Regions from separate parts of the Homo sapiens genome. Here all the other regions are linked to region 1. The links are contacts of gene promoters, found by promoter capture Hi-C in human tissues and cell types (Jung and others, 2019). All regions are on one chromosome and are shown on one strand. Each heading gives the region's core, a stretch centred on a gene start or on the middle of the fragment in contact. The rest is flanking DNA. Distances are from core to core; before and after follow the strand shown. Region 1 holds the start of RAB20 (RAB20, member RAS oncogene family). Region 2 overlaps LOC124903211 (WAS/WASL-interacting protein family member 1-like). Region 3 overlaps ARHGEF7 (Rho guanine nucleotide exchange factor 7).

What was found. The method cuts DNA at HindIII sites, captures the fragments that hold promoters and counts their contacts. A contact is called where the count stands out against the background at its distance.
Region 2: a contact is called between a fragment that was not itself captured here and the fragment with the promoter of RAB20 in region 1, in 1 of the 25 tissues and cell types used here (dorsolateral prefrontal cortex).
Region 3: a fragment that was not itself captured here is called in contact with the fragment with the promoter of RAB20 in region 1 in 2 of the 25 tissues and cell types used here (bladder and thymus).

What each region holds. Positions count from the first base shown.
Region 1 is chr13:110,557,814-110,562,971 of GRCh38, forward strand. RAB20 (RAB20, member RAS oncogene family) reads right to left here and starts at 3,909. Exons shown (of 2, transcript NM_017817.3): 1 at 3,535-3,909. The coding sequence starts at 3,706. RefSeq lists enhancers at 1-104, 105-627 and silencers at 3,469-3,528, 3,508-3,697, 3,589-4,038. The HindIII fragment of the contact is 6,225 bases long and covers 426-5,158 here.
Region 2 is chr13:109,790,387-109,795,544 of GRCh38, forward strand. LOC124903211 (WAS/WASL-interacting protein family member 1-like) reads left to right here. Exons shown (of 2, transcript XM_047430835.1): 2 at 1-610. Among named protein-coding and RNA genes, the nearest start is that of IRS2, 6.4 kb to the left of the region's middle. The HindIII fragment of the contact is 6,622 bases long and covers 1-5,158 here.
Region 3 is chr13:111,183,230-111,188,387 of GRCh38, forward strand. All of the region lies in intron 2 of ARHGEF7 (Rho guanine nucleotide exchange factor 7), which reads left to right. Among named protein-coding and RNA genes, the nearest start is that of ARHGEF7-AS1, 37 kb to the left of the region's middle. RefSeq lists enhancers at 911-1,050, 1,511-1,640, 1,741-2,000. The HindIII fragment of the contact is 3,787 bases long and covers 1,181-4,967 here.

The DNA.
Region 1 (5,158 bases), core at 2,659-5,158:
CGCCAGGCCACGGCCTTTAGAAGGGAAGGAAAACAAATGTGGAGAGCATTCTGTCTCCAGGGCTCTGGGGACCAGGTCTGTGCTGGGCACACCAGCCGCTTTCTCATCAGCCTGTCGTATTTTCTTCAGAGCAACGATCAGATGTGAAGCTGTACCATTCACTTCTTGCCTGCCTTTCCCCCTCCTCTGGAATCCAGGGCCTGCGGGGCAGCGGCCAGCCGGCCTGCTCACTGCTGTAGAACGAGGGCCCAAACAGTGCCCGGCACCGGGGAGCCTCAGTTTATATTTGCCAACAACAGGCAACACCACTTTAGGCTGTCCTGAGCAACCGGGCAACACAGAGGAGCACAGCAGTACGTCTTCTAGGGCTCTGCCTCCTCGCTGGGCAACCTCCTTTTGCTTCCTGGATGTACCCACCCATGCACAGCAACCACTCCACATCTGTGTGCCCAATTAGACAAGGGCTGGGAGTGGCAAGTGCCCCCTAAAAGGGCATAATGAGACAAGGTGAGTTGGAGTTGGATGAACCAAGGTCTAAATCCCACTTAACTTCTGCTGTCTTCCCACTTTTTTTTTTTTTTTTTTTTGAGACAGAGTCTTACTCTTGTCACCCAGGCTGGAGTGCAATGGCGCAATCTTGGCTCACTGCAACCTCCGCCTCCAGGGTTCAAGCGATTCTCCTGCCACAGCCTCCCAAGTAGCTAGGATTACAGGCGCCAGCCACCACACCCAGCTAATTTTTGTATTTTTAGTAGACACGGGTTCACCACATTAACCAGGCTGGTCTTGAACTCCTGACCTTAGGTGATCTGCCCGCCTCACCCTCCTAAAGTGCTGGGATTACAGGCATGAGCCACCGCGCAGCCCTGTCTTCCCATCTGTTTTTTTTTTTTTTTTTTTTTTTGAGACAGAGTCTCGCTCTGTCACCGGGTTGGAGTGCAGTGGCACAATCTTGGCTCACTGCAACCTCTGCCTCCTGGTTCAAGCGATTCTCCTGCCTCAGCCTCCCGAGTAGCTGGGACTACAGGTGTGCGCCACCACGCCCTGCTAACTTTTGTATGTTTAGTAGAGATGGGGTTTCACCATGTTAGCCAGGATGGTCTTGATCTCTTGACCTCGTGATCCACCCACCTCAGCCTCCCAAAGTGCTGGGATTACAGGCATGAGCCACCACGCCTGGCCCCATCTTTAACATGCAAATAATCACACCTCCCTCTGGAGGACTGTTGTGTCAATGGAATAGGGTAATGTACTTCTGCCCTGCCAACTCTCTTCCCCCTCTTCAGCTCCATCCACTGCCTGCCTTGCAGGCTACAAGCAGCCAGGCATTGGGTGTACACTGACCCCCATGCAATCGTTTTTACTATTAAACATCCTGTCGCCCTCTGCACACCTGCACCCCCACCCCAGCCCACCCTGCCTTGTGTGGCTAAAAGCAACTTTCAAAATGGTTCCTCCTCCGGCTGGTCCTTACCATTCTGCCTCGGTTATGACAATTACAACAAAAACAACTTGAAAAGCAATGTCTGTGGGGTGGAGAGAAAGTTTAGGAGCTCAGCAAAAGAAGGAAAAGAACAGGGTCCCCTAAATGTTAAATTCTGAATTTCCAACAATTATAGAAAAGGTATCTGTTCCTACCTCTCTTTTCCCTTCAAGTACCCGGTCAGGCCACAGGCCACCGAGGAGGCAGGCAAGGGTGCCCTGTGTCCCTGCCAACTCTGGGCAAGGGCCGCCTGAGTGTGTACACAGGAAGTCAGGAATGTGGAGAAGGGGCCTGGCCACTCTCTGTTCTGAGGAGCTCTAGTAATTCACCCTTAGGATCTTTCGAACAAGCAGCAGCAGCCTCGGATGCCAGGAAATGAGCTGCTGCCCCCCAGTAACGCTTCAAGACATCTGGGGCGTCACATCAGCACAACTGCAAAATCTCTGGTGATCAGGATTCCGGCTGCATCACGTCCTTGGTGCTGAAGAAGCAAGAGGCCAGTGGAAACGAAACTGCTGCTTCATTCCCTCCGATGCAGGGGCCGTTCCAGCACTGCAGGGCAGCTCTTGTTCCAGAAACACACCGTGTGTTAAGAGTCTGCCTCCAACGGTGGCCACTACAGGGGTTTCGGTTAGGGTCCCCCAATAACACTCCTGCATTAACCTTGCTACTTGTAAACCAAGGGCAGCAGTAAATCCCAGCCAACCAGCAAAAGCAGCAGAGGGGCAAAGCTTTGTACAAAACCAAATTGGGTTCAATTTGACTTTGTACAGAAGCAAATTGGGTTCGTGAATTGGGTTCGATTTGACTTCTAGAGCGTGTGTTCCATCGTTACCAAATGCTCAGTGTGAGGGAGTCAGCTCAGTAAACCTCATCCTGCAGCCTGAGGCAGAAGACAGAGTTGGAGCAAAGATCAGGGAAATGCACCTCTTTACCTGGGGGACATTGTTTTCACAAGATGATTGCCAATAAATTAGTCACGATGTTAACTGGGATAATAATAAAAAAGCATCAAAGAAGGCAAAAGGGAGGGGGAGAACTGGAAGTACCTCTGTGAGCTTCGTTAATTCAGTTTTAAAGAGAGAATTCATTATCATCTTGTTTATTCAGCATACTGATACACCCAAGATGGCAATTTAAGAATTCTGGACGGGGCCTTTGGGTATATGACTTTTTAAGATGCTAACATAAAAGAAGTCAGAACTTTCAGAGTTTCAGGCTTCTAAAAACTCACACTCATTGAAAATGTGTCACACTATTTCCAGTTTCTTCATTCACTTACAATATCTTATTCTTTTGTAAGGAGAAGGAAATATATTCCATTGCAATGCTACAATCACCAGTGTTATTTTCCAAAGTTAAACAGAAAGCCTGAATTGAGATCCTCTAAGTTGTACTTTTGAAAAGTCACAAATACTACACAATAAAAATAACTCATTACCTATCTTAAAAATGCTTCCACCGGAAGTCACTCCAACCCAAACCCATATGACGTATCTGAGCCAAGATCAAGCAGAAGATTAACTGTAAAAGGCAGATATGCTCCGGGCTAAGAGGTCCGGAGGCTCCAGTTTTATTTCCTCTCTCCTGACTAAACCCAACAGGGGGGAACACTCTGTGCCTCATTTTACTTTTTCTTAGAAAGGGGCTAATAACACCAGCTCTGCTCACCCCTCAAGTGAATCTCAAAGGATATCATGTTCCTACGGGTACGTGAAAACTGAAAATACCTAACAAAGCAGCCACAGAGGAGCGTCTCTGGTTCCCAGGGCGGCAGAGCAGGAACGCGGGGCTCGGGAGCAAAGGCAGCTTAGGTACACAAATGACCAGCGGGTTCTCTGCAACTTGGGTTGTCCCTGAGGTCACTGAGTGGCTGAGAGGCAGCGCTCAGCCCAACCAGCAAGGGAGGACGAGTGGGAAACCCCGAGAAGGAGGCATTTGCTGTCCGAGGCCGGGACCCTGTGCGCGGCCGGGTGCCCTGCTGGAAGCCCCGCGCCCCCCGTCCCCGGCGGAGCCCCAGGGCGGTGTGGCTCATGCGGCGCCGGCCTCACCTGCGGTGTCCCAGATGGAGATGTTGTAGGAGCGCCACTGCTTCAGGTAGAAGGCGCCGCCCACCGTGCTGACCGTGTCCGGGAAGCGCCGCTCCATATACCGCTGCAGCAGCGACGTCTTCCCCACGTTCATGTCCCCCAGGAGCACGATCTTGCTGTCGGGCTTCCTCATCTTCCCGTAAGAACCCCCAGCGCCCCCGCGCCCTCTCCCCGAGGCTGGCCGGCTCGTGCGCCCTGGGCGCAGCTGGAGGAGCGGACCCCGGACTCGCCGGGACCCGGATTCTCGTGAACGCTCCGGGACCTTCGCCTCCGGACGCCCGGGAGCTCAAGAGAGGAAGCGCGTGTGCGCGCCCGGGAAGGAGCTGGGTGCAGAGCACGGAGCCCACGTCGGGGGCCCGGACCGCGGCGGCCTCGCCTCGCCCCGCCCCCGCCCCCGCCCCCGGGCCCTTTCACCGCCGCGGCCCCGCCCTATCCTCCTCCGCCCACCGCCCCCGTCCCGCCCCTGCTGGACCTCGCCGTTTCGCAAGCATCCGAGTTCTCCAGCCGAGGCTCGGGACTGCTGCAGGGTGGAAAATGAAAGTTCTGAGAGCACCTTCCGCCCCTCCGCTTCTGCACAGCCGGGGCTGCGGTGCGAGGAGCTTGGCCGCGGGGCCCGAACGAGGCGAAGGGGCCGGGGCCCTTGGGGAACCCCCTTCTCTCTTCCACTCTCCCTTAGGTAAAACCCGTGTTCCTCTCACGCTCGACCCAGCGCCTTTCCAGCTGCGGTCGATTTGCTTCTCCGCGTGTAAGTACAGCCACCCTCAAGGTCATTGAAAAAGTTTGCTTTAAATGAGCGTCTGCGGAACTCGTCCTGAGGCTCTCACTGTTACAGATTAGAGATGGGGGCGCTTTCTAGTGGAGGATTTTGCTTTTGCTCTTCTACTTTTGCAAGAAGCTTTTTGTCCTGAAAAGTGGACAGTCATCTCCATTTATAGCTTGGAATGAAAATTTGACTATGGAAGTTGCAGTCGCTACTTGAGAAATATTTCCTCCTTCTTTTTTTTTTTTTTTTTTTATTTTTGACACGGAGTTTTGCTGTTGTTGCCCAAGCTGGAGAGCAGTGCGCGATCTCGGCTCACTGCAACCTCCGCCTTCCGGTTTCAAGCGATTCTCCTGCCTCAGCCTCCCGAGTAGGCGGGATTACAGGTATGTGCCACCATGCCCGGCTAATTTTTGTATTTTTAGTAGACACGGGGTTTCACCATGTTGGCCAGGCTGGTCTCGAACTCCTGACCTCGTGATCCACCCGCTTCGGCCTCCCAGGTCCTCCTTCCGTTTTAAAGGATAAACCTTGAAATGCTTTTAAAATATGCAGCGTGTAGAATTTGGTTAGTTGGTTGGTTGGGGTTTTTTAGAGAAAATGAGAGGTAGAATGGACTCTAAGTTAAACCCTGGGGGACAGTGTCACTCTGGCCGCTGGCCTGGCTGGGAAAGGCGATGAGACCCTGAGCAGGTTAAAACCCGTGTCCTGAAGGTGTCCTGTAAAGGGAAATAGGCCCGTTGCCTCCTTCGTAGGTGCCCTGAGACTCCGACAAGGCAGGAATGCCAAGGTATTTCGTACCTGCTCAGCCCTGGCATGTCAGGT
Region 2 (5,158 bases), core at 1,889-4,388, 770 kb before region 1:
TTGCAAACATTTAAAGTATCAGGATTTGTTAATGGAATTGATCAGCCCCTTGGAAATTATAAAGGCTTTCTACTTGTGTGTTTATTATTCTTGTTAAAAATATGGATCAGTCTCTTTCCTAAATGTTCATTTTATGAGGGAGGATTTTCTAAAATAAATGATTATTTAATGTGCATATATGATAGAACAAACTACTATAACTTTTTTAAAGTCTTATCAATTGAATTAATACTGTTTAGAAAAATATGTTGTAGTTACAAATGCAGCTAATCCAGTATTCTCAACATTTTTTCATTATAAATATAATTATGTTGAAGAAATACATAAATGCCCAATTAAAAAGTGACTGCGGTTAGGAGTTGAAAATATTTATTAATATGCCTCTGGATTTTGTTCTGTTTGAATTTTGAGAATGTGTTTCTAGATTTAAGAAGCAACACAAGCTTTTTTTCCCAGAAGGCTTCCTATTATTGAAATGGAAATTATACATTAATGACTGTATAACACTAGTAGATATTTTTAAAATGCAAGAGCATCTTCTTAGATCATTACTTTTCCTTGGAATGCTTGGCCCCTGTAATATAATACACCGGTATTTTGCATGATGAAATTGATGTCCTGTGTGTTGCTTCATGTTGCTATCCTAGCTGCCGATTAAAACGTTTTTTTTTTTTCATGCCAGAGCAGAACAAAATTGTCTGCTTCTCAATCTGCACATCATAAGCAGATGACATTAAAAATGTCTGTAAGATGACACAGCTATATTTTCTGGGAGAGGGCGGGAGGATGCTCAGCGAGGGTGGCCCGGAGTGTCCTTGTACAGAGTACAGATGTTATGAAGTGGGGAAGACCAGCCTGTGTTCATTGATTCACCTATTGATTCCAGGAGCAAGCTCACCCTGTTTCATACACTGCTCAGGAGGTAAACAGGAGGAAGGGAGCCAGCCTGGCTTTTTTGCCACATGCTCTGCTGTTTGGTAGAACTGTATTATAGTCAGAAACCTTCCGCTTTTCTGCAGTTGTTTGCATGCTGTTTCCAAGGCTAGCCCTCTGAGTCTGTTTTCTAGAGTTGTTTTGAAATTCAACCTAAAGATAACAGAGGAAATGTGACCCTCTCTTGTGAATGCTGCCACCAACTGGCAATGTTTCTTCCCAAGGCAGATTCAGGGTTCTGGCATGAGTTGTCACAAATACAGTGGTGGTTGCTTTGAGAGAAAGGTGCTTACAACCTGACATAAATTTGCTTTGCATGAAACTTTAAGGAAATTAATAGAAGTAAGATTAAACAAAGAAATTTTGATAGTGAGTGACTAAGAGCAATATCAGATGACAAATGAGGGAAGAGAACATTAATAAGTGCAATACTTTATTTTTTATGGTTGAATTAAGTATCAAGCAAATATGTTCATATTTTCTAATGCAATTTATATCCCAATTTGCATAGTTACTTATACAGTTTAATAGAAATGTATATCACTGCCCACTTAAGAGTTTAGAATACTAGCCAACAAAATAAAAACAAGAATCTAAATTCAGTATTATTTTAGAATGTTTACCTAATCAAAAATAAGTTATAATCAAGATTTGCTTATCTGGCAAGCCAAGTGTTTTTTAATTGTATTTCTCCCCTACATTGACCTTTAAGTCTCACATTCTTTTTAGGATAAGCCAAAGTCATCTTGAAAGATTGAAAAGCAAATTGGAAAAAGTAAGATAGGAAAGAAAACATACTCTGAAAATGACACATAACAAAAATGTATTTTAAAAACATAAATAACAAATGGCAATAAGCATCGAATGTCACTATCTTTTTGATTGCGTAAAATTATTTGAACTTACATACTCATTACTAATTTGGCAATTCTAAATTTACAAATTACACCTTCCTTCTTAACTGCTTTATTCTCAATCTTTAGGCATTGCAAATAGAAGATATTCAAGTTAGTCAAAGTGTTCAGAGCTGTTATTCAATAGAGTGAAGGGATCTGAAAACTTATTTGCTACTGAACATGTCGTTGAGGTACTTTTATGGATGAAAAAAAGTTGATATATAAAATATCAATAATAGTAATAGCTTGTGAGAGTAGTTTGTCAGTATACTCACAAAGATCATGAATTTGACGCTTACTAGTATGAGGGATAAATAAAAAACATTTTATAATATGTAGCTACCATAAAGATACGATTATGACACAACTGAGAATTGAGCGGTCTTTTAATTCTCCTTTTGAGTAATCTTTACCAACCTGTCCTCTGAGCCTCCGTGTATATGCTATGTTTAAGACCAATGATTAGCTATTTATACATGAATTTTCCATTTTTCCTTGTTCAAAACACTTTTGTCACACAAATAATATTAACTAAACTAAAGTGACTTGAGGGAGTATGGATTAATGAGGTTCACAAGAAAATAAATAAAGCAACAACTTGTGAAATTTAGGGCAGATGCCATTTATTGCCATTTCCCGCTGACTGTTAAGTAGAGATTTCAGTTCAGATAAACACATTCTAAGAATTACTACTGAAAGTGTAAACATCAGCCTGCATTTTAGTACTTGCTGGTTCTTTAGTAAAAATTTCGAATGTCAGCCCAAGGTTGTCTTGCTAAAAGAGAAAAAAAATAGGAATTATATATTGAAAACATCTTAAAATTATATTTTATACTACAAAAATTTCCTTTTAGGTAGTAAAAGTGAGAATTTAAAAACATGATTCTCACTGCTACTAAAAGCACACAGAAAATGAAATACATATTTTTGAGACTTGATACTTACCTGTTTTATTTTGATAAACTTGTACCTAGTTTTAAAGTTTCTTCACACTAAAAGTACACCACAATTTCAAAATGGCACCCTTGTCTCTCACAATATAAACTTTAAAGGAAATTAATATCTAGATCATCATTTTGCTTTGTTGTTTTAAATATCATCATGTTTTAGTTACAGAATAATACAAAAGTGGGCTCACCCTTTATCGTGAAGGTGCATTTATGGCATTTTCAATTCAAAATATAAAAATCCGCAAACATTGTTACTAAAAATGTGCTAGATATTTGTTAAGCCTCAAACGTATACTAAGAATTACCCAGAACATAGGTCTTTGCCCCATTAGCTTTCTGTCTAAGTAATAAGGCACTATTTTCCTCAACTATTTCTTTCCTCAAATATTTTTTTCTTGTGTCTTTTGTTACAATATTGCCACACATAATTTGAAGATAAAAATTGCCATATATTATAACCATCATCTGGCTTTTTTAAAAAAACTTTCTTAGTGCTTGATTTTAATGTCCAATGCTGCAATTTTACCTTCTTCTTACTAATGGTGTAGAGTAGAGAAAGTGACTTTTATCTCTGAGCTGAGGAAGTTTCTAAATTTCATTTCACAGAAATTAGTTTTAATGAGTCAAACAGTAATTCTATTTCTTTTATTTTTAGGTTGCTTCCTTTAGAAGGTACCGTTTTGGACTCTTGACGCTGCCTGGGTCCATAGTGTGAGGACCCATCTGTGTAGTAGAGAATAATACTCAATAGATGTAGTGATGTAGTTATGCTGTGTGGTGGTAAATTCATTCTAACCCAGTGAAATGTTGGATTCGGTCAAATTTATCAACGTTTCTTAAGCACCTACTTTGTACTAGACACTGATCCTGTGGACATCAAAATGCAAACCGACCACAACCACTCAGCTGTGTCTGCTGGGAAAGGCCCTCCTCTGTGCGTCTCTCCTGCTCCCACGCCTGTTAGTGGGTCAGTGAAATACGCAAGACCCTGGCTTTGCTTTACTCAAGCCTTTTTTAAGGGTTGTGCTTGCAGCAAACCACACTAAGAGGTGAGGTCGCATTCCAGAACAAAGTGCGGGCCTGCTTATTTCCTGCTACAAAAATGGTGGATTACCCAAGTCCTTTGTGTCAGCCGAAACACAGCCCACTGCAGGCGTGGCATCCAACAGGCCCCGCCCTGTTGCCCCATGCTGCCCGGGAAGCAAGAGGAATAGAGGCAAGTCATGCCACTTTCTGTGCCATGAGTCTCTGACCGGAAAGGCTTACATCCTCTGCCAGCATCCACCTAACGGTGACGGGCTAACATTACTTTCTAAGGGAAAGGGAGTAAAATCTCAAACCCTGACAGTGTGCTTAGGAAGCTCACAAATCAGTGGGAGGTGGAGAACCTACATGAACATAGCCAAATCAAAAGGTCAGTTGTATTTGGTACAGAACTAAATCTAGATACAAGGGACAAAGCATATTATAAAGCTGGCAGTTTATTTCATTGGAGGATAAGAGATTATTCAGTAAATGGGGTTGGCAGAACCAGAAAATATACCTGTAGACACATAAAAATTAGATGCCTGTGTCCTTTCACTAAAATGTCAGGTGAAGCAAAAAATTAAATATTAAAACATGAAACCATAAAACCAAGTAGAAAAGTAAAGAAATATTGATAAACTTGACTTTCTAAAATAGGATTCTGTAGGGGGAATACAGTAAAAACAAAACAAAAACAGTAAAAGCAAAGTTAAAGTAGAAGCTGGAAGGAAATTGCAGCCAGTATCATAGATGAAGTGCTAATGATGCTTATTTAATACTTTAAAAGAGCGCTGTAAAAAATAAGAAACTAAAAACATTCTAAAAATTGGTGAATGACCTGAATACAAATTTCACAATAATGAAAATTAATGCAAGAAAGGCTTAAATGTGTGAAAGTTTGCTTAACCTTTCTTGTAATAAGATGAATGCAAATTAAAACCACAATGTGGTAGAATAGTTCACCTATCAGATTGGCACAGATCAAGAAGTTTGATAACACGGTGTGTTTGCCAGAATGTTGGGAAACAGGTTCCCACCCAAGGCTGCTGGTGGTACAGACTGAACAGCATCTATACAATTTGGCTGTATCTGTCAAAACGACAAATGTCTCATGTTCCTTGACCCACAATCTAATTTCCAGGAATTACTCATGTGGATGGGAAATGACTTCTTTATAAGGGTGTTCATTGCATTATTGTTAGGAATAGAAACTTATACACATGATTACAGTATTGTCTTGTAATGGCAAAGGTTTGAACCCTATGCAACTGTAACACAAACGAGGCAGCTCTGTTTATACTGACCCAGAATAATATTTGACTGTATAATGTGAGGTGGGAAAACAAGCTTCAG
Region 3 (5,158 bases), core at 1,824-4,323, 620 kb after region 1:
ATGGCGCTTATTTTGAAATACATATGCAGTGGACATGTACTGGGAGTTAGAAATTAAGTGCAGAAGGCAGACAGCTATAGCATTCTATAGCATTTGGATGGGAGTATTGGCACCTTTTTTTTTTTTAAACAAAAATGTTCTCAGTGAAAATGTGGTTATAAGCTTATTTTTTTCTATTTCTCTCAGAAGCTGTCTGGCAAATGTTTTGATTCTTTGGATGTTTTTTGATGGGGTCTACCCTCAGGTCTCACACCTCCGGCATCATCTGTGGCTTCGTCTTTTCTAATCAAACCTCCTTTGAACTTTTCATGTTGTCTGCTGAAAGTTACATTTGCATAGCATCAAATAGTGCATAAACTACATGTACATTGTCATTTTATCAATTATTATAAAGTCCTGTGGATTTTTACCTATAAACCCTCTTCTAATCCATTTCTTCTCTTCCCCATTATGGCCTCTTTATGAGGGAGGGAATTTAATATACTTGCTCTGTCTCTCACCTTCCCCACAGCCCCTCTAAATCCCAATTTTTGCTAATTGTACCGGTTTTATAATTTTCAATTTTTTAGTAGTCACCTTTTAACTGTATTTCTAGTATTTCTTGACTTGTCATCTTAGACTTCTCTCCTGTGTAAAAGATGAGGAGCTCTGTAAGTCTCCACCAGGACTTGTGGGGAAGGGTTGACGGGGGTCACTTGCTTATGGCCGGGTGCGGGTGGGACTGCATTTTTTAACCCTCTCTGTGTGGTTGGGGTAGGATGGTGTTATGGTGTGACTCTGTCCCCACCCAAATCTCACCTTGAATTATAATAATCCCCACCTGTCAAGGGCGGGACCAGGTGGAGATAATTGAATCACGGGTTGGTTTCCCCGCCGTTCTCATGATCGTGAATTAGTTCTCACGAGATCTGATGGTTTTATAAGGGGCTTCCCCTGCTTTGCCTGGCACTCATTCTCTCTCGTTGTCCTGTGAAGAGGTGCCTTTTGCCGTGATTGTAAGTTCCCTGAGGCCTCCCCAGCTATGTGTAACTGTGAGCCAGTTAAACCTCTTTTCTTTATAAATTACCCAGCCTTGGGTATTTCTTCATAGCAGCGTGAGAACGGACTAATACAGATGGTTATTGTTGAAGTTTTTTGACCTACTAGGCTGCCCTGTCCTGGTCCTTTGGCTAGAGAGGATAGGTCTTTCTTGAGGCTTTTCTTCTGTACCTGTTGGTGTTTCTGGGTTGCTGGCTTGTTTAGCACTCAGTTTGGAGCATTTGAGGCAAAAAGAAAACCCAGAGAACCCGCTGGCATGGTTCCCAGCCCTGAAACCCTTAGCCGGTCTGCCTCCTCTCTCACATTCTGAGGCTGACGTTTGTTTTATAGGCAGCATCCAGGGCTTTTAGCTGCATTCAGCTGGAGGGAGGGGGAGATGTGTCTTCTCCATCTTTTTGGGAGTCATAGGTCAGTTCTCTTTGTGCTATGCTGTTATTTCCTATCAGGTGTGGCCTTGATGGGTTCTTCCTGTTTGTGAATAAAAGCCCAGTTGACTGGCATCAGAGCGGAGGGGACTGTGCAGTCCTGTGTGTGGGTTACCGGCCCCGTGGGCTTCACTGTGCGGGTTGTGTGTCTGGGAGCAGGTGGGGAGAACCGGATGGAGGGCTCTAGAAGCAGCTACACGAGCAGAGCTGAGGGAGACACTTTCTCTGCACCTGTTTCCTGTGTCACACTTCAGATGGGGGATAGTCCAGGCTGGTGGTGGAGCTCCCAGGGGATTTCGCTTCTGGGTAGAATTGTCATTTTTTTTTTTCCTCAGAGACTGTTGTGTGGGCCTAGTGGTGCATCAGGTTCCGGTTAGAATCCAGTGCAGGCCGCAGGCTTCTCTTTAATTAGAGAGGGTCACTTCACCTCCGGTTAGAATCCAGTGCAGGCAGCAGCTTCTTTTTAATTAGAGAGGGGTCTGGGTGCTGAGCTTCCCATCAGGAAGAAGGGGCTGTCGTGCTGAAGTCCTGAGGTGGGTCACGTGTCCCTTCCTGTGTTAGAAAACCGTCTTTGGTGCTCCTGGGGCTCCCTTACAAGTGCTGTTCTGAACTGTTAGGTCATTCAGAGTCCATCTGCGTCCTGTCCCCAGGGATCTCCTCAAACCCTGTTTAGACTGCTCATAGCCTTTCCCTTTTTAGCACTACAGCGGGTTCTTTCTCTGTTAATTTTTTGAAGCTTTTTCTTTCTCTCATTTCGGTGGCACCTTGGGAGGGATGGGAGTTAGATAGGTGTTTGCAGTGGGCCATCTTGAGAAACTTCTCAAAACTGGAGTCTTGTAACTGCTTGCATTTTGAAGTTAATGGAATGGGCGCATTGCCTTTATAGCTGTAAATGTTACTGCTTCACTTACTGTTAGCCCAAGCCAGTGTGTTGCATCTGCCCAGATCCTTCTTTGTGGTATGTGCTCACTTTCTGGCGACAGCCAGGCTGTTCTTTGCAGGCATGTGCTCCTAGCAGTCGAAGACAGAAGTTTGGGGGCCTGTGTAGGCTGTATGGGCTGCTGTGTGTGTGTACGTGGTGAGTTGTGTCTGAGACCACCCCTCCTCCCCTGGGTGCTGCCTGATCTGCCTGCATGACCGCTGTGGGACACCACTGTCTCTGGTGTCCTTTCCTGGCTGGCAGTGTGGTGGTGTGGGCAAAGCCAGGCTGGTGGGCTCCGATCTTGGTTCTGCCTTTGTAAGCTTTGTCACACTGTCTTTTGGGAGCTCGTGTGTGTGTGTGTGTGTGTGTGTGTGTGTGTGTGTGTGTGTGTTTTCGTTTTCTGCCTGTAAGATAAACTGGCATGCAGTCTACACTGAGGTACGGGCTGTGTGGGCCAGCACAGCATGCCGTGGTCCTAAGCAGGGAGGTGTCCTTCCTTTCCCCTGCCTGTTGGGGCTGCGCTTCCCTGCCTCGTGTGGAGGTTGCGCCCGGTCTGCAGAAGGCAGAGAGCATCTTGTTGGGAAGAGCCCTGCCTGCCTTCCCGTTGCTGTGCTCCTGCCTCCCTGCTCTGCTCCTCTCACCCCTTCCTGGAAACTACCTAAAATACTTGGTTACTTCTTTTTTGAAGATGTATTCTCTGTCCTAGTGTTTGGGTGTTGATACAGTGGAATCCACAAAATTGAATAAGATTTGATTTTCATTTTAAAGTGAAATAAATCATTTGGGTGCATGTTGGGTGAAAGTGCCGTAATTGATAGCATCCGTCATCAGACTTTAATTTTACCCCTGGGGTGTAGGAGTGGGTGGGATTAAGTACAAAATCTGCAGAAGCCAGGAAGTGAAAACGTACTGCTGGATTTCTGTTTTTCACATGTCCCCAACAATATGGACCATTTGCATTAAACTTAAATAGCACCACTTATTTAAGATTCATTTTTTACTCTTGTTCTGAAATCACAAGTTCCATTTGACAGTGATAGGACAAAATTATATTTTTAAACTTTGCAAACCACACTCCAGAGCTGTGCTAAAAATAACAATTTCTTGTGTCAAGAATAACTTTCTCAAGTTCCTGGAGGAGGCGAGCTGACTGGTGGCAACGCAGACCACTAAAGCTTCAGTGAGCCCAGAAAGTGTGCGCTCAGTCCCACATTGCAGAGGCCTCTCCGTCAGTATTGAGATGGTGGAAAGTGAGGAGAAGCAAAAAGACGACTACTTCTTTCCCCATTTCCCGGTCTGGTCTTTTTGGGGTCTACTACGTAGAGGTGCATCAGCCAGCGCTACCATGGAGGCAGGAGGCATTCTTTTGCTCTCGTGTCAGTACTGACGGGGTTGATTAAGGTTGCTGTGCTTGTTGGTGTGGGTATTGGGAGGGTGGTGTGAAAGCAGTTGGGCTGGAATAGAGCTGGTCAGTGTGTCCTTTTGCGTGCATTTGTGTGGCCCTAGTGCTACAGTGGTGTCCCTTAGCTCTGGGGGACTGTCTGAATTTTTGTGCTCTAAATTATTAATACATGTTTATGTGTGGGTTTGCCAGAATGCTGTGTCCGTTATTGTTGGCTCCTTGGACAGCTCTCCTTGTTCTGCTTCACTGGCTGTGAAATTGGTTCACGTGGTGGGCTCTGGGTCCAGCGAGATGCATCTGAGGTGTTGACCTGGTGGTGTGGGCCTGGGGCTGCCAGTGGTCCTGTTGCCTGATGAGGGAGACCGTTCCTGAAACTGTGGCGCACACTCAGGAGAGTAGGAAAGAGAGCGGAGAAAGCCTTCCGGTTCTGAGCTTGTGGCTCTTGCCATTCCTGACTTGTTTGTTGTGCGAACCAATAATTTCCTTTTTTTGTTTAAGCCAATTTGAGTTGGGTTTACTTGCTTGTAGTGGAAAGGTTCTGACACAGGATCTTTATTATATGAAGTATTTTCATAATGTACATTGTGTTATATATTAGACATATCACACGATCTATTTTGTGATGTAGTTTGCTTTGCTGTTTTTATTCTGTGGAAGATATTCCTGAATTTCTACACTTCCTATGAATTTGGAAGTGGGGTGAGGCAAAGTCACTAATATCGGGGTATCAGTAGGGGAGCCTTTCGAATCCCAAACATTGGAGTGTCCTTCTGTGACCCGTTTCTTTGTCAACTTTTGTCCGCTAGGCAGAGTGGCTGTGACATCTGACATCCAGTGTGAAGGTGTGGTCACTCAGCTGGAAGAGAAAAACCTAGCACTCTGAGAGTGGGTGGATCTGCTGGTGATTTTCAAGCAATGTCTTCCCGTTTTTGGATGCTCATCCCTTCTGTAGTTGGAGCCTTGTTCTCTTTTCCTTGAGTACAGGTGGGGCTGATGACTCATTTCTTATGAACCGAGCACAGCCTGCCTGACTGCTGAGGCTAGCTCATAGGATTCCTGAAGCTGCAGGCCCTGCTTTCCTTCCTGCGTGTGCCCTGGGATCACTCGCTCTGTGGAGTCCGTTGTCCGTTCTCTGAGGACTCAGGAACTGAGGCCTCCTGCTCACAGCCACGCTGTGGAGCTGTCTTGGTAGCACCTCCTCAGTCCCTGCAAGGCCTTAGGCTGCCAGAATCCCACAGCTTCAGCTGACATCTCAACGACCTCCCCTGAGACCCAGAGCCACATTCACCCAGCTAAGCTGCCCTGAACGCTGACACGCAGAAACTGAGATAACAGATGCTTGTTGTTTGGGCCACTGAGTTTTAGAGTGAG